Regions from separate parts of the Homo sapiens genome. Here regions 2, 3, 4 and 5 are each linked to region 1. The links are contacts of gene promoters, found by promoter capture Hi-C in blood cells and fetal thymus (Javierre and others, 2016). All regions are on one chromosome and are shown on one strand. Each heading gives the region's core, a stretch centred on a gene start or on the middle of the fragment in contact. The rest is flanking DNA. Distances are from core to core; before and after follow the strand shown.

Region 1 (2,705 bases), core at 128-2,627:
GTCATGCCACTTCACTCCAGCCTGGGCAAAAGAGCCAAACTCTGTCTAACAACAACAACAACAACAACAACAACAAAACAGAACAAAAAAAAAAAGAAAAAAGTTGTGAAAATGTAGTGAGGGTCCCATAGTCTGAATAGTTTGAACTAGTTCCTGGCACATACTTGGTTCTTTATAAGAGATAGTTGTATATAACAGAATAAAGAATATATATTTAGTAAATGAGAACTGCAAACATGTACTGTAGTAGATATGTGGATATTTTTAGGTATTGCTCTCTTCTTTCAACCCTCAATTCTTGGAAACATCAATTCCATTATACATTTAAGCAAATAAAGATCAAGGTTTAAACACTGAAGTAATAAATTTGTTCATCTTTCAAATTCAGAAACTCCTTGAGGAATGATTACAGAGGCCCTAGTTGCTTTGTGGAGTTGATCTACCATATGCCAAAGCTTGTGTTTTCTATGTCTAGCTATCCTCAGTAAGCAAGTTGTTCTGAATTATATGACTGTGCTATTAAGAAAAGTGGAAATCCATAATATATTCTGCCTTCGTTGCATTTTTTGATTGCTCTTTCATTCTTTTAGTATCTAAAGAGTAGTTTTTCTATTAGTCGATCCTGTTAAATGTAAAAACTTAAAGGGTTTCCTCTGCCCTTTTTTTTTTTTTTTTTGGAAGTGGTGGGTATAATTCTATTAGTACAGGATCACGTGATCTGTTTCTTATAATAGTTTTTTTTTTCTTTTTTTTTTTTTTGAGACAGAGTCTCACTCTGTCGCCCAGGCTGGAGTGCAGTGGCACGATCTTGGCTCACTGCACCCTCCAGGGTTCAAGCGATTCTTATGCCTCAGCCTCCCAAGTAGCTGGGACTACAGGCGCGCGCCACCACGCCCGGCTAATTTTTATATTTTTAGTAGAGACGGGGCTTCATCATATTGGCCAAGCTGGTCTGGAACTCCTGACCTCGTGATCCGCCCGCCTCGGCCTCCCAAAGTGCTGGGAGTCTTTTTTTATTTTAGGGCTCCAATTCTTCACATATTTGCTGTTACTTTTTGTTAATAAGAAAAACCTAAATTCCACTGACATCAGAGAACTGCTTCAGCCTGGCTAAACAGCAATAAGCCGTGAAGAGGATTCTGGATGTTGTAGTCCGGGAGCTCCGAGAATTTTGTCACACTCTCCGTAACCCTCTCTCACTCGCTCGCTCCGTTTTTTTTTTTGTTTTTTTTTTTTTCAAGCGCGAAGAGGGCGGCACCTGGATGGTTTTTCCTTCTGGAAGTTCTGGGAAACGTATTCCAGAACTCTGTCCGGAAACAATTGGGCCGCAGGAGCGCGGGCCTTCTGGGAAGGGTAGTTCAGGAGCTCTGGGCAGGCAGAGCCACTTCCGCCCCGGAAAGCGAGGCCGCCACCATCTTTTGGGTCCGGGAGGTGAGTCAGCCCTGCACCCCCACGACCCCTCTTGAACCTTTTCAGCCTGTGCTTGGGAATAGGCGCTCCCCAGCCATCAGTCTTGGGATGGAGAGGTCGCGGCCGCGGCGGAGGCCGAGAGGCCGAGGGCGGGAAGTTTGCTCTCCTCCCGCACTTGGCAAGCAGCGCCGCTAGTTCTGTGGGTATAATAAACAGCGAGTTACCTATGATCCGCGCTCCTGTTTCCTCATCTTTAAAATAGCAATAAAGATAGTCGTTACTGTGTAGGGTTGTAATTAGAATTAAACAAGATAATACGGGTCAAACCTTAGAACAGTGGTGGCACCTGATACTGGGTTGGCTCCTGCTATTGATACAGTGATTCCCTCACAAGCGCCCTTTTTACTGGAAGCTCCAGTGAAGAGAGAAGAAAAGTCAGGGCTTTATGCCATGGCCTTTCTGTCGTATCCTTCAGGAGACCGAGCTCTTCCCGAACTTTTACAGATCTTTTTTTTTTTTAAGAAGGATTGAGTCATCGGGCTCCAATGCGTGGGGATGTTTACCGCCGTTTATCCGGGATAGAGACTCCATCGTGCTGACAGCATCCTTTTATTCACCGCCTCCGAATTTGCAAAGAGGAGGAAGGAGGGACTTCTTGGCTTCTCCCAGCATAGCCCCAGGTACCTGCTCTTGAACGCACTTTGTTGTTCCATTTTCTGTCCTTTCAGTTAATCAAGTTTCCGTCACTCAGTAAGTTACTACTGAAAAATGATGAAATATTTGTTGAATAAATGTGAGAGTGGGTAGGAAAACTACTTGGAAATGAGTATTACCAATAACATCTTACCACTTTGATTTTAAGGCATTCGTCTGTGGACCATAGCTATTGATGAAGTAGGTCTTGTTATTTTGTTATGAGGAAATTAGGCAGAGTTTATGTTATTAAATACTTTCCCGAAGTTATTCAACTGATAGTAAGAGGTGGATTTGGGATTGAACCCAAGCATTCCTTTTCAGACTGTGTGATCTTTTTTGTTTGTTTTTGTTTCTTTGGTTTTTGTTGTTGTTTATTTTCTATTCCTTTTTCTGAGTCTGTGGTCTTAATCTCAATGATACAGTCGTCTTCAGTTATCTTAAATAGTAATCCATATGGCTACCGGTGAGTCGTTGGAAATCAGCCTTGGGAATGTAGGTATGGATTTTACTGTGGAAGACCTCAAAAACTGCACTGATGAATTTTGAATTTTTTAGAAAAATCCTGCAACATCTCACTTACTTAATTTCATTCCATGTCA
Region 2 (2,705 bases), core at 80-2,579, 6.7 Mb before region 1:
CATTTTGGGCCAGATAATCCTTTGTTACAGAGGACTGTTCTCTACAACACAGAGTGGCTGGAAGCATTCTTGGCCTCTTCCCACTAGATGCCAGTAGTATCCTACCCCCATCATTGTGAGAACCAAAATTGTCTTCAGGCATTGCCAAATGTCCCCTGGGGCTTAAAACTGCCCCAGGTTGAGAATTCATTGCTCTGGTGTAATGAACCTTTATTTGATTGACTGTTATTTATTAGGATGTAGGTGGTGTAAAAATAGATGTTAACTTGCAGACAACTGATGCATTTTTCATTTTTCTTTTTTTTTTTTTTTTTTGAGATGTCTCACCCTGTTGCCCAGGCTGGAGTGCAGTGGCGTGATCTGGACTCACTGCAAGCTCCACCTCCTGGGTTCACGCCATTCTCCTGCCTCAGCCTCCCAAGTAGCTGGGACTACAGGCACCCACCACCATGCCTGGCTAATTTTTTGTATTTTTAGTAGAGACGGGGTTTCATCATGTTAGCCAGGATGGTCTCGATCTCCTGACCTCGTGATCTGCCCGCCTCGGCCTCCCAAAGTGCTGGGATTACAGGCGTGAGCCACCGCGCCCAGCAGACAATTGATGCATTTTCATATATTCATCTGGTATAGCTACAAATTGATTCTGTGTGGAAGAAATAACCTTAAAGGTATGGTTTTATTGCCCTGTAGGGATATTAAATAGTTTTATATCTAACTTTGCAATCTTATTCGAAGATTCTATTGTTTTTCACTGAAGATAGGTATATACCTGTTCACTTGGAAATCAATTTCCAATGCCCTTGCTAATAAGTGAAATGAATCTTTGAATATCTGTAAAAGAGTTAAAAATTATAAGTTTTTGAAAATTATACTTTGATACTTGTTTCACCCATTGCCCCGGTGCTCTTCCTGCCTCCACATACTCTGAGGACAGGATGGGCTGTGGCCTCTCCTCATCCCAGGCTACTTCCACGGTCAACCTTGATCCAGGAGATGGTCACATCCCACCCAGATCCAGAGCACCCTACACTCATGCCAAGATACAGCCCTATTGACACTCAGGCCACAGCCTGGGAAAGATGGCAAGACCCCATCTCTACAAAAAAATAAAAATAAAAATAAATTAGCTGGGCATGGTGGTGTGTACCAGTAGTCCCAGCTACTTGGGAGGCTGAGGCAGGGGGATCACTTGAGGCCAGGAGTTCAAGGCTGCAGTGAGCCATGATTGTGCCACTGCACTCTAGCCTGGGCAACAGAGTAAGATCCTGTCTCTAAAAAAAAAAAAAAAAAAAAAACCAAAAAGCCAAACTAAACCAGACAAAACACCAAAAAATAAAAATAAAAAAAAAACAGCAACAAACTGAAGGGGGCCTGCCCCTCCACACCTGTGGGTATTTCTTGCAAGGTGGAGACGAGAGACTGAGAAAAGAAATAAGACACAAAGTATAGAGGAAGAAAAGTGGGCCCAGGGGACCAGCGCTCAGCATACAGAGGACCCGCGCTGGCCCCAGTCTCTGAATTCCCTCAGTATTTATTGATCACTATGTTGACCATCTCGGAGAGGGGCATGTGGCAGGACTATAGGGTAATGGTGGGGAGAGGGTCAGCAGGAAAACGTGAGCAAAGGACTCTGTGTCATAAATAAGTTTAAGGAAAGGTGCTGTGCCTTGATGTGCACGTAGGCCAGATTTATGTTTAACTTTACACGAACATCTCAGTGCAGTAAAGAGTATTGCCACCAGCATGTCTCAGCAACCACAAGGCGGTTTTCTCCTATCTCGGTAAATAGAATGTATGATCAGGTTTTATGAGACATTCCATTCCCAGGGACGAGCAGGAGACAGATGCCTTCCTCTTATCTCAACTGCAAAGAGGGCTTCCTCTTTCACTAATCCTCCTCAGCACAGACCCTTTACGGGTGTCGGGCTGGGGGATGGTCAGGTCTTTCCCTTCCCAGGAGGCCATATCTCAGGCTATCACATGGGAAGAAATCTTGGACAATACCCAGGCTTTCTTGGGCAGAGGTCCCTGTGGCCTTCCTCAGTGTATTGTGTCCCTGGGTACTCGAGACTGGAGATTGGTGATGACTTTTACCAAGCATACTGCCTGCAAACACATTTTTCACAAAGCACATCCTGCACAGCCCTAAATCCATTAAACCTTGAGTCAATACAGCACCTGTTTCTGCAAGCACAGGGTTGGGGCTAGGGTTACAGATTAACAGCATCTCAAGGCAGAAGAATTTCTCTTAGTACAGATCAAAATGAAGTTTCTTATGTCTTCCTTTCTCTACATAAACACAATAACAGTCTGATCTATTTTTCTTTCCCCCACAACAAACAACACTCAGGCCCAGGTAAGGTCCTTTCTGCTCCAGAGCAAGGAAGCGCTGTGCCTCCTTTTAGGCCAAATTTGGGGCCCTGTACCCTTTTAAATGATGACAGTGTCTAGGGCCACCACATTTAGTTCAAGGCTTGGACCTATAGGCATAAGCTCACTGGAACAGGTGAGAGCTGATGGTCACTGCAGGTTGGGTTAGCCCAGAGCCTTGGAGCTAGTCTGCCTAGAGGCTCCTTTCTCGAATTCCTCTGCCTAGAGGAATCACACTGTCATAGGCCATAAATGCTAATGATGACCTTGGCAGGGTCCTATCTTTCTGCAGACTATGATAAAGTTCTGTTACTTCTTTTCTCACTCCCTCTGTT
Region 3 (2,705 bases), core at 55-2,554, 6.6 Mb before region 1:
AGCACACTTTCAAGCAACCGTCCTTTTTGACCACCACCACTGAAGTTACCAGATCATTTACCTTTATACCACCCCTCCAGCATTTTATCTCCATTTCTTTCTTTCTTTCTTTTTTTTTTTTTTTTGGAGACATGGTCTTGCTCTGTCGCCCAGGCTGAAATGCAGTGGCGTGATCATGGTTCACTGCAACCTCGACCTCGGGGCTCAAATGATCCTCCCAACTCAGTCTCCCAAGTAGCTAGGACCACAGGCATGTGACATAATGCCCTGCTAATTTTTATTTTAAGTAGAGATGGGGTTTTGCTATGTTGCCCAGGCTGGTCCTGAATTCCTGGGCTCAAGCAATTCACCCACCTCAGCCTCCCAAAGTACTGGGATTACAGGCTTGAGCCATTGTGCCCAGCCTACCACCATTTTAAAGATTCTCCTGTGAAAAAAAAACAAAAAACAAAAACCTCTCCTGATTCTGTGGTTCACCCTGCAGTGGACAGGAGCTGCAGGGTGAACCAGGAGAATGGCAAAACTTCTCAAGAGGTATGCATGCTTCCTGTCTATACCTTTTGCTTTTCTTTCTCTCCTACCACCATAATTAACATTTTGCCATATTTCCTTCCTAAATTTGTTCCATGGATTTTTATGTAGTTGAAATAATACTGCATATATAAACTCTAATCACACTTCTTTCCCCTAATTATTACAGTGTTCTTAAAACCTTCTAAAATATTGTAAACTCTATTTGTAACTTTGAGGGTTCCTCAAATGGGCCTTCAACAGTGCCTGGTGAGTTAATTCACTGTCCCACTCTAGTTTTTATTGTTGACTTACTTCTTTCTCACTCTCTTTTAAATACTCCACAATGAGGTTTTTGTTCCTCTCATTGCCAAACCCACCTTGTCAGGGTCACCAACACCCTTCATCCTGCCAAATCCAATAGCCAATTTTCAGCGTTCCTCTTACTTGAACTCCTAGCATTATCTCTCTCAGCTAACTGCTTCCTCCTTTTGTCAGTTGGCTTCCAATACACTGCATTCCCTCTTCCTAGGTCACAGGTTACTCAGGTTAGTCCTCAATTTCCTTTGCTAGATTGTTTTCCTGACTGAATGTTGGAACACCCCATGGTTCAGTCCTTGAGCTGTACCTTGCCTTCCGTCTAAACCAATTCGCTCCATAATCTCATTCAGTTCCTCGGTACAGAGAGTAATCCCATATTTATCTCTTCAGTCCTGACTATCCCCTCCACCCACAGGCTTCCAAATGCTTATCTAACTTCACCACACAGATATCTAATGAGCATATCAAATACGTAACTCTTGACTTCCTTCTCCAGCCTTCCAAACCCTGATGCCTCTATTGCCAATCTTCAAAATAACTCCATTATGAAGGTATTAATTCTACCTTCAAAATATAGCCTGTTCTCATCACCTCCACATATTAAACCCAATTCCAAGCCACTGTTATCTCTAGTGTGAACTTCTGAACTAGTCCTCTCATTAGTCTTCCTGCTTTCATTTTTATCCTCACTGTTCACATAGCACTCAGTGACCTCTAAACAAAGATCCTTTACTTGTCTGCAAAAAGTCAGCCAGGGGCTCCCTATCACACTTAGAATAAAATCTCACTGCTTGCAACAACCAACAAGGTCCTACATGATTTGACCTCTGCCTATTTCTCTAACCTCACCTCAAATTTCCACTTTCAGTAGCCACACTGGCCTTCTTGCTGATTCTCAAACAAGTGAAGCTCAGTTTCTCTCAGGATCTTCTCTTCCCTCTGCCTGAACACACCTTTCCCTGATTTACAGCCAACTTTATTCAGGTCTTAATTCAAATGTTACCTCCCCTGAGCTATCATTCCTGGTCCTCCTAACCTATGAACGTAGCAAGCTCTCAGTACGTATGTGCTGGCTAGAGATACTTATCCAAGTTTAACTATAAAAGAGCAACCAGGAAAAACGTAATTCAAAAAATAGATAAAAGCATTGTCCCCAAAAGAGATCAGACCAAAGGTAGCTCCCTTATTAAAACAAAAAGGGAATGTAAAACAGAAGAGTGGCAAATGGGAGTTGGGAGGGAGGTTCCACGGGGAACTCACACACATAACCTTCCTGCTCTCCCTATGTCTCAAGCCTTCTTTCCACAGGCCTTTGAAGAGAGCTTCAGGCACACACCTCAAAGTGCTGCCACCTACGGATCAGCTGTATTATTAGCAATAGCTGACACTGTGACCAGCCTTTATTCACCTGAGCTCTGTCTTTATGTCATGGTTCTCATCAGCATCCAGGGCTCCTTTCCTTGCTCCAGTAAGGAAAGTATATTTGGCTTAGGGACTGCACATACAGCTTAAAAGAAAGGAAATGGTGCATGGTCATGCTAGGGGATTCCCAGATTCAAATCTAGTCCATTGGCATCAAAGAAGGGAGACACTGACAGGAAGTGACAGAGAAAGATGTGACAGTCTAAAGGATAAGAGATAAAAAGGTACACGGTGGAGCTGTCCATTTCTACTTCTACTCAAACGTAAGCCTTTCCTTAGGGAATGGAGATCAGAAATTCACAATGAATGAGGCAGAAATTATGGGGAACAAATTCTGAATATTACGTAGGATGATCTTACCCAATGAGATCAGGTTGCTGTAGTTCTCCAACATCACATCCCTGTACAAGTCCCTCTGAGCAGGGTCCAGGCATTCCCATTCCTCCTGAGAG
Region 4 (2,705 bases), core at 86-2,585, 6.6 Mb before region 1:
CAGTCTCTGTCTAGGGCAGAGATGGAACAGACATGAAGTTCCTAGAGGGGGAGGTACTTTACCATCCTTTGTCAGATCTGAGGTGTAATGAAACCAAGAATGGAATCATTTGACTACACGTAGGAAAGCACTGCAGTTTTCCACAGATCCTGTGTCTGTAGATAAATGCAGTTTAATATTGATTGGCCTCAGTTTCAGTATGTGGTTGGGGCCTGCTTATAGAGAGGCCAGGGGATCTTTCCTGAGAATCTCTGAGGTGAAAACCCATAGTAAGACGCATTTTGTGGTTAAACGGAATGTGCTAGTCTTGACATCAGTATGATTCTGGTTCATTACATCAATATTCTTAATCTCAAGAAAAAAGAAGGTGTGTAGTACTTATAAGAAAATCATCCAGATACATAAATATTAGTTAATTGTATTCTCCCAGATTTGCAGTGAGGTACTATGGCCTCGAACTTCTGAGTTCACCACTGTACTCCAGCGTGGGCAACAGAGTGAGATCTCCGTCTCGATTGATCAATCGATTGATCGATAGATAGATAGATAGATAGATAAACTTAAAGGAAAAAGAGGATATAGGATTCTTTTTTATGTATTAAGTGGTTTTTCTTAAAGTATTTATTATTAAGTAATAATTTATTGAGAATTTTTGAGGTAGAAATATAGTTTATTTGCTTGTATCCACTGTTTAATTGAATTGGGAAACATTTATTTGTTCCCAGAAATGTTTTGAGTAGTTAAAGAACCCCATAATATACAGGAAATTTTGCATATAGTGGCTGGATTCTTCAAGAAAATGAGGTGACTCTGCTTTAGAACACCTGGTTCCTTTCTTCTATCTTTATCATAAGCTTTCAGCCCCAGCCTAGAGTTTAGTATAGTACCCCTTGCTGCAATGAAACCTTTTATCTCCTTTTCTTCTTTTTAAAATACTTGTTCTGTAATTTCACCAGTAATATGTTGGTTTATGGTTTCAGGCATTGGTGACGTTCAGGGATGTGGCTATAGACTTCTCTCAGAAGGAATGGGAGTGCCTGGACACTACCCAGAGGAAATTGTACAGAGATGTGATGTTGGAGAATTATAATAACTTGGTCTCACTGGGTAAGGTCACCTATGTCAAATAATGTAGACTCTGTTATCTGAAATAGTAGCTTTCTCTTCCACAAATTTAGGACTAATTATTAAGAAACTAGCTGAATTTCTTCTCTCTTCCTCAAGGAATGGACTGAACTTTGATGGTTTGTGAATGGCACTTCCACTAAATGCTTTCATTTTCACCATACCTCACTGAGCCTCATGAAATGTTCCTTAATCCATTACTGTAGTTACTTCTTCCTTAATAGTTAAGAGACTGGATTTGAATTTTGGGGCATTTACTCCAAAGCCAATGTCAATGAAATCAGGTTTCACATTGCATTTGAGCTCAGAATTGCTATGGATGCTCTGTTATTTGGTAACATGCCTATAAGGATAACAGCCCTACCCAGGGTCTACAATTTACATGTCATGGTTCAGACCAATAACATTGATTTAAAATTAAAGTGAATGCATTCTACTTCCTAAAACAAATATTTTCTCTTACTGATTTGTGATTGAAAATTTTACCTATTGGACATTATGCTCAGTACCTGGGTGGTGGGATCAAATGTACCTCAAACCTCAGCATCACACAATATCCCCAGGTAACAAACCTGCACGTATGGCCCTGTATCTAAAATAAAAGTTGAAATTAGTTAAAGTAAAATAAAATTTATTAACTTAGCATCTAACTTTAAATGAATATCTTAGCAAGAACCTAGAAATATTTTAGGAAGCTTCTTGTTTTGCTCTAAGTAAATTAACAACAACAAAAATAATAATAGCTAATAGAGTGCTTACTATATACCAGGCATCATTCTAAGTACTAGCTACAAGATACAAAAGAAAAAAAGAAAATAAAAGGTACTACTTTTATTTTCATTTTACAGATGAAAAAACTGAGGCCCAAATAATTTAACCAGTTTGTTTACAATCATTAGTCAATAGGTAGTAGAGTAGAATTTGGACCCACATAGTCTGGCTTCAGAGGCTATGCCCTCAATAACTACTGCCTCTCAATAGAGCCAGTCTGTATGAGTTTTAATTCCAAAATGAATTAAAATTCTCCTAGATGAATTTTAATTCCCCTGCCCATCAAGTTTCTTTATTCTCTGGGATCCTGAGGTTACACTAAGTTGAATATTCTTTAATCCTGTCAGTTTTTTCCGAAGTCTTCATCGAAATCATGTTGATCCATATAAATTTAACCAAGTCTCAAAATGTTTCTGAATGTGCAATGTTTTATTTCTATATATTCTTTTATTTCTTTCTTGTAAGCAGGATATTCTGGCTCAAAGCCAGATGTGATTACCTTACTGGAGCAAGGGAAAGAGCCCTGCGTGGTGGCGAGGGATGTGACAGGAAGACAGTGCCCCGGTGAGTTGAGAGTTCATCAGGCAGATGGAAGCCCTCATTGCCAGTCACGGCCAGCTGGTGAGGGAGCATATACAGGCTTTGCATGCTGTTTAGGGAGTTACTCTCAGAGGCCTCAGGCCTTTGGAGTAAAGGTTAAGACAGGGAAGAAAACAGATCATCTGAGCATGAACTATCAAAAGAACCTCATCTTGGCTCCTACTTACCACCTGTCTTTGTTTTTGTTTCCCCTCGTATTACTCTCCATT
Region 5 (2,705 bases), core at 130-2,629, 6.4 Mb before region 1:
AGCCCCATCACTGAAAACAGGTTTGAAATATAAAAGAAATAAGGTGATTGGTAAATGGGGTAAAGTTGAAGCTTCTTCCATAGCTTATGCTACGATCTTTATTCCCAACCAGGTTGTAGGCCTTTGCTCCACAAGTCTGGGTGCCTTGGAGGAAGGTTTCACAAACAACACAAAAATGTCTCCTTTCTCTTACCACATGGGCTGTGGCCGGCCCTGATGGTGTCCCCTGCCTTCCTTACCTGTGAACTGTGTTTCTTCCCTCAAAATCATCCAGGGCTCTTTTCCTCGCTCCAGTAAATCAACCACAACTGGTTTAGAAATGGAATGTCCTCCTTATAAGAAAAGAAATGCCACATGGTATAAAAATAAAAACAAAAGTAACAGAAACCTTTGAGCTTTGATTAAATTTACAATGAACTAAGGACTTCAAATAAAAGAGGGGTGAGATGATTGAAGAAATGAAACAGGCACAGTAAAACCTTATTTTAATGTAAACTCATACACGCGTGGTCTCTTAGGAGAAAGTTTAACCTGTGACCTTATAAAATGTCTCTTTCCAAATATTACCACCCCAAAGTAGCTGTGAAGTTCTCTGGAGCCAGAAGGCTGGGGCACAAATTATTCCTCTTAAATCTACCAACCTTGTGACTTTGGCCATGTGACTTCAACTCATTATTCCAATTTGGCAAATAAACTGGACATAATAATACTACTATTGGCTAGGCATGGTGGCTCACGCCTATAATCCCAGCATTTTGGAAGGCCGAGGTGGGAGGATCACTTGAGACCAGGAGTTTGAGACCAACCCGGGCAACAGAGCGAGACCTCATCTCTACAAAAAAAAAAAAAAAAAAAAAAAATTAGGCATGGTGGTGCATCTACAGTCCCAACTACTAAGGAGGCTGAGGCAGGAGGATCACTTGAGCCCAGGAGGTTGAGGCTACAGTGAGCTATGATTGCACTCCAGCCTAAGCAACAGAGCAAGATCCAGTCTCGAAAAAAATAAATAAATAAATAAGATAATAACAATAACACTATCACACAGTTCTTTCAGGATTAAGTTATTTTATATATATATATATATATATATATATATATATATATATATTCCCCCTCCCTTCCAAAGAGTGGCTGGGGACATAATGAGCACAACTGTACCAATTATAATTATTTTATTATTTCTGTATGAGAGAAAAAAAGCATCCCGACTGATATATAAAATCTTCATTCAAACTCAATGCAAAGCTCATGAATTATAACTTTCAACAATAAATCATACAAATTGGCTACAGGAAATGAAATGTGGACTCTTCAGTTTCCAATAAATATTGTTCATCTAATCCAGCACTATATGTCACAGGGGTTCTTCTTATACTCAGAGTAAATCATGAATCTGCGTCTTTTGTCCCTGCAGGTGGATCAGATGATGACACAGCATATCTATAGGAATTCTGGAAATATGCACAATGGGAAACCAGGATTCCTGGGCAATGGTTATTCATGGACTAATAATATATAATTTAATAATAATAATATATAATTTTAACCCAGCCCCTTGGATATTAAGGAAAGGAGGCAATCATAAGGGGCAGGAGAATATGTGACTATCTCTAAAGGATGAAGAAAATGATGGTGCTTAGTGGCACAGCCATTGTCAAACAGGCAGAGCTGAAATATTCCTCTAAGAACAGGAAGGAGAAATTCAACTATGTCTTGAAATATGGCCTTGAAATTCATTGTGTTGAAAGGTAACATATCACAGATCACATTTTAAATTACTTGAGGCAAATAAACTTACCCAGTGATACCAGGTTTCTATAGTTCTCCAACATCACATCCCTGTATAAGTCCCTCTGATTAGGGTCCAGGTATTCCCACTCCTGCCGAGAGAAGTCTATGGCCACATCCCTGAATGTCACTAATTCCTGAAACTGCAAACCCATGCATTACAAAATTTTAAAAACATTTTAAAGAAGGAAAGATAGGAGATTACAAGAGCACATTAGAGAAAAGGAGTGATATAGTATATGTGGCTAATGACTGGTAGCAGACTAAAGCAACGTGTCTACATATTCCTAAAGGATCCTATTGCCACAGGATCCTATTCCTAAAGGATCCTATTCCTAAAGGATCCTATTGCCACAGACAAATGTTTCTGCATGTTGAAGGTTACCACAATAATTCAGACCTGCTGAGGAATGGATAAAATAAAATTCAATAAAGTATTAAAGACACAACTACATAGTCTGCTAGTCATGTGATGCATAAATTCCCAATAAACATGAGTTTCTAAACTATTTTTCCTGTAAGTTAGAAAAATGAGATGTCCTTGCCAAATTTAATAATCTCCAATATTTAATTGTTTTGTGCTATTTATTTATTTTTTTGGGGACGGGGTCTCACTCCTGCCCAGGCTGGAGTGCAGTGACTCAAACATGGCTCATTGTATCCTTGACCTCCCAGGCCCAGGTGATTTTCCCATCTCAGCCTTTCAAGTAGTTGGTACTACAGGTGTGCAGGACCTGCCCAGCTAATTTTTGTATTTTTTGTAGAGACAGGGTTTCACCATGTTGCCCAGGCTGGTTTCAAACTCCTGGGCTCAAGCAATCCGCCTGCCTCAGCCTCCCAAAGTGCTGGGATTACAGGCGTGAGCCACTGCACCTGGCCAATCTCCATATTTAAAAAAAAAAGCTTTTGCAGAACAT

Evidence for each region. The method cuts DNA at HindIII sites, captures the fragments that hold promoters and counts their contacts. A CHiCAGO score of 5 or more calls a contact.
Region 2: a fragment that was not itself captured here is called in contact with the fragment with the promoter of ZNF227 in region 1 in 1 of 17 cell types (non-activated CD4 T cells); the score reaches 6.7 in non-activated CD4 T cells.
Region 3: a fragment that was not itself captured here is called in contact with the fragment with the promoter of ZNF227 in region 1 in 1 of 17 cell types (naive CD8 T cells); the score reaches 6.9 in naive CD8 T cells.
Region 4: a fragment that was not itself captured here is called in contact with the fragment with the promoter of ZNF227 in region 1 in 4 of 17 cell types (naive CD4 T cells, total CD4 T cells, non-activated CD4 T cells and 1 more); the score reaches 6.7 in naive CD4 T cells.
Region 5: a contact is called between a fragment that was not itself captured here and the fragment with the promoter of ZNF227 in region 1, in 1 of 17 cell types (non-activated CD4 T cells). The highest score is 6.2, in non-activated CD4 T cells.

Annotation. Positions count from the first base shown.
Region 1 is chr19:44,211,155-44,213,859 of GRCh38, forward strand. ZNF227 (zinc finger protein 227) reads left to right here and starts at 1,378. Exons shown (of 6, transcript NM_182490.3): 1 at 1,378-1,431; 2 at 1,936-2,090. The HindIII fragment of the contact is 5,683 bases long and covers 454-2,705 here.
Region 2 is chr19:37,500,384-37,503,088 of GRCh38, forward strand. All of the region lies in intron 2 of ZNF793-AS1 (ZNF793 antisense RNA 1), which reads right to left. Among named protein-coding and RNA genes, the nearest start is that of ZNF793, 5.2 kb to the right of the region's middle. The HindIII fragment of the contact is 7,082 bases long and covers 1-2,705 here.
Region 3 is chr19:37,581,358-37,584,062 of GRCh38, forward strand. It overlaps ZNF571 (zinc finger protein 571), which reads right to left. Exons shown (of 4, transcript NM_016536.5): 3 at 2,614-2,705. All of the region lies in intron 5 of ZNF571-AS1 (ZNF571 antisense RNA 1), which reads left to right. It also overlaps a transcript of ZNF540 not described here. Among named protein-coding and RNA genes, the nearest start is that of ZNF571, 12 kb to the right of the region's middle. The HindIII fragment of the contact is 5,270 bases long and covers 1-2,705 here.
Region 4 is chr19:37,598,646-37,601,350 of GRCh38, forward strand. ZNF540 (zinc finger protein 540) reads left to right here. Exons shown (of 5, transcript NM_001172225.3): 3 at 981-1,107; 4 at 2,365-2,460. Among named protein-coding and RNA genes, the nearest start is that of ZNF540, 5.1 kb to the left of the region's middle. The HindIII fragment of the contact is 966 bases long and covers 853-1,818 here.
Region 5 is chr19:37,769,766-37,772,470 of GRCh38, forward strand. ZNF573 (zinc finger protein 573) reads right to left here. Exons shown (of 5, transcript NM_001172690.2): 3 at 1,799-1,931; 4 at 240-332. Among named protein-coding and RNA genes, the nearest start is that of ZNF573, 8.5 kb to the right of the region's middle. The HindIII fragment of the contact is 2,620 bases long and covers 70-2,689 here.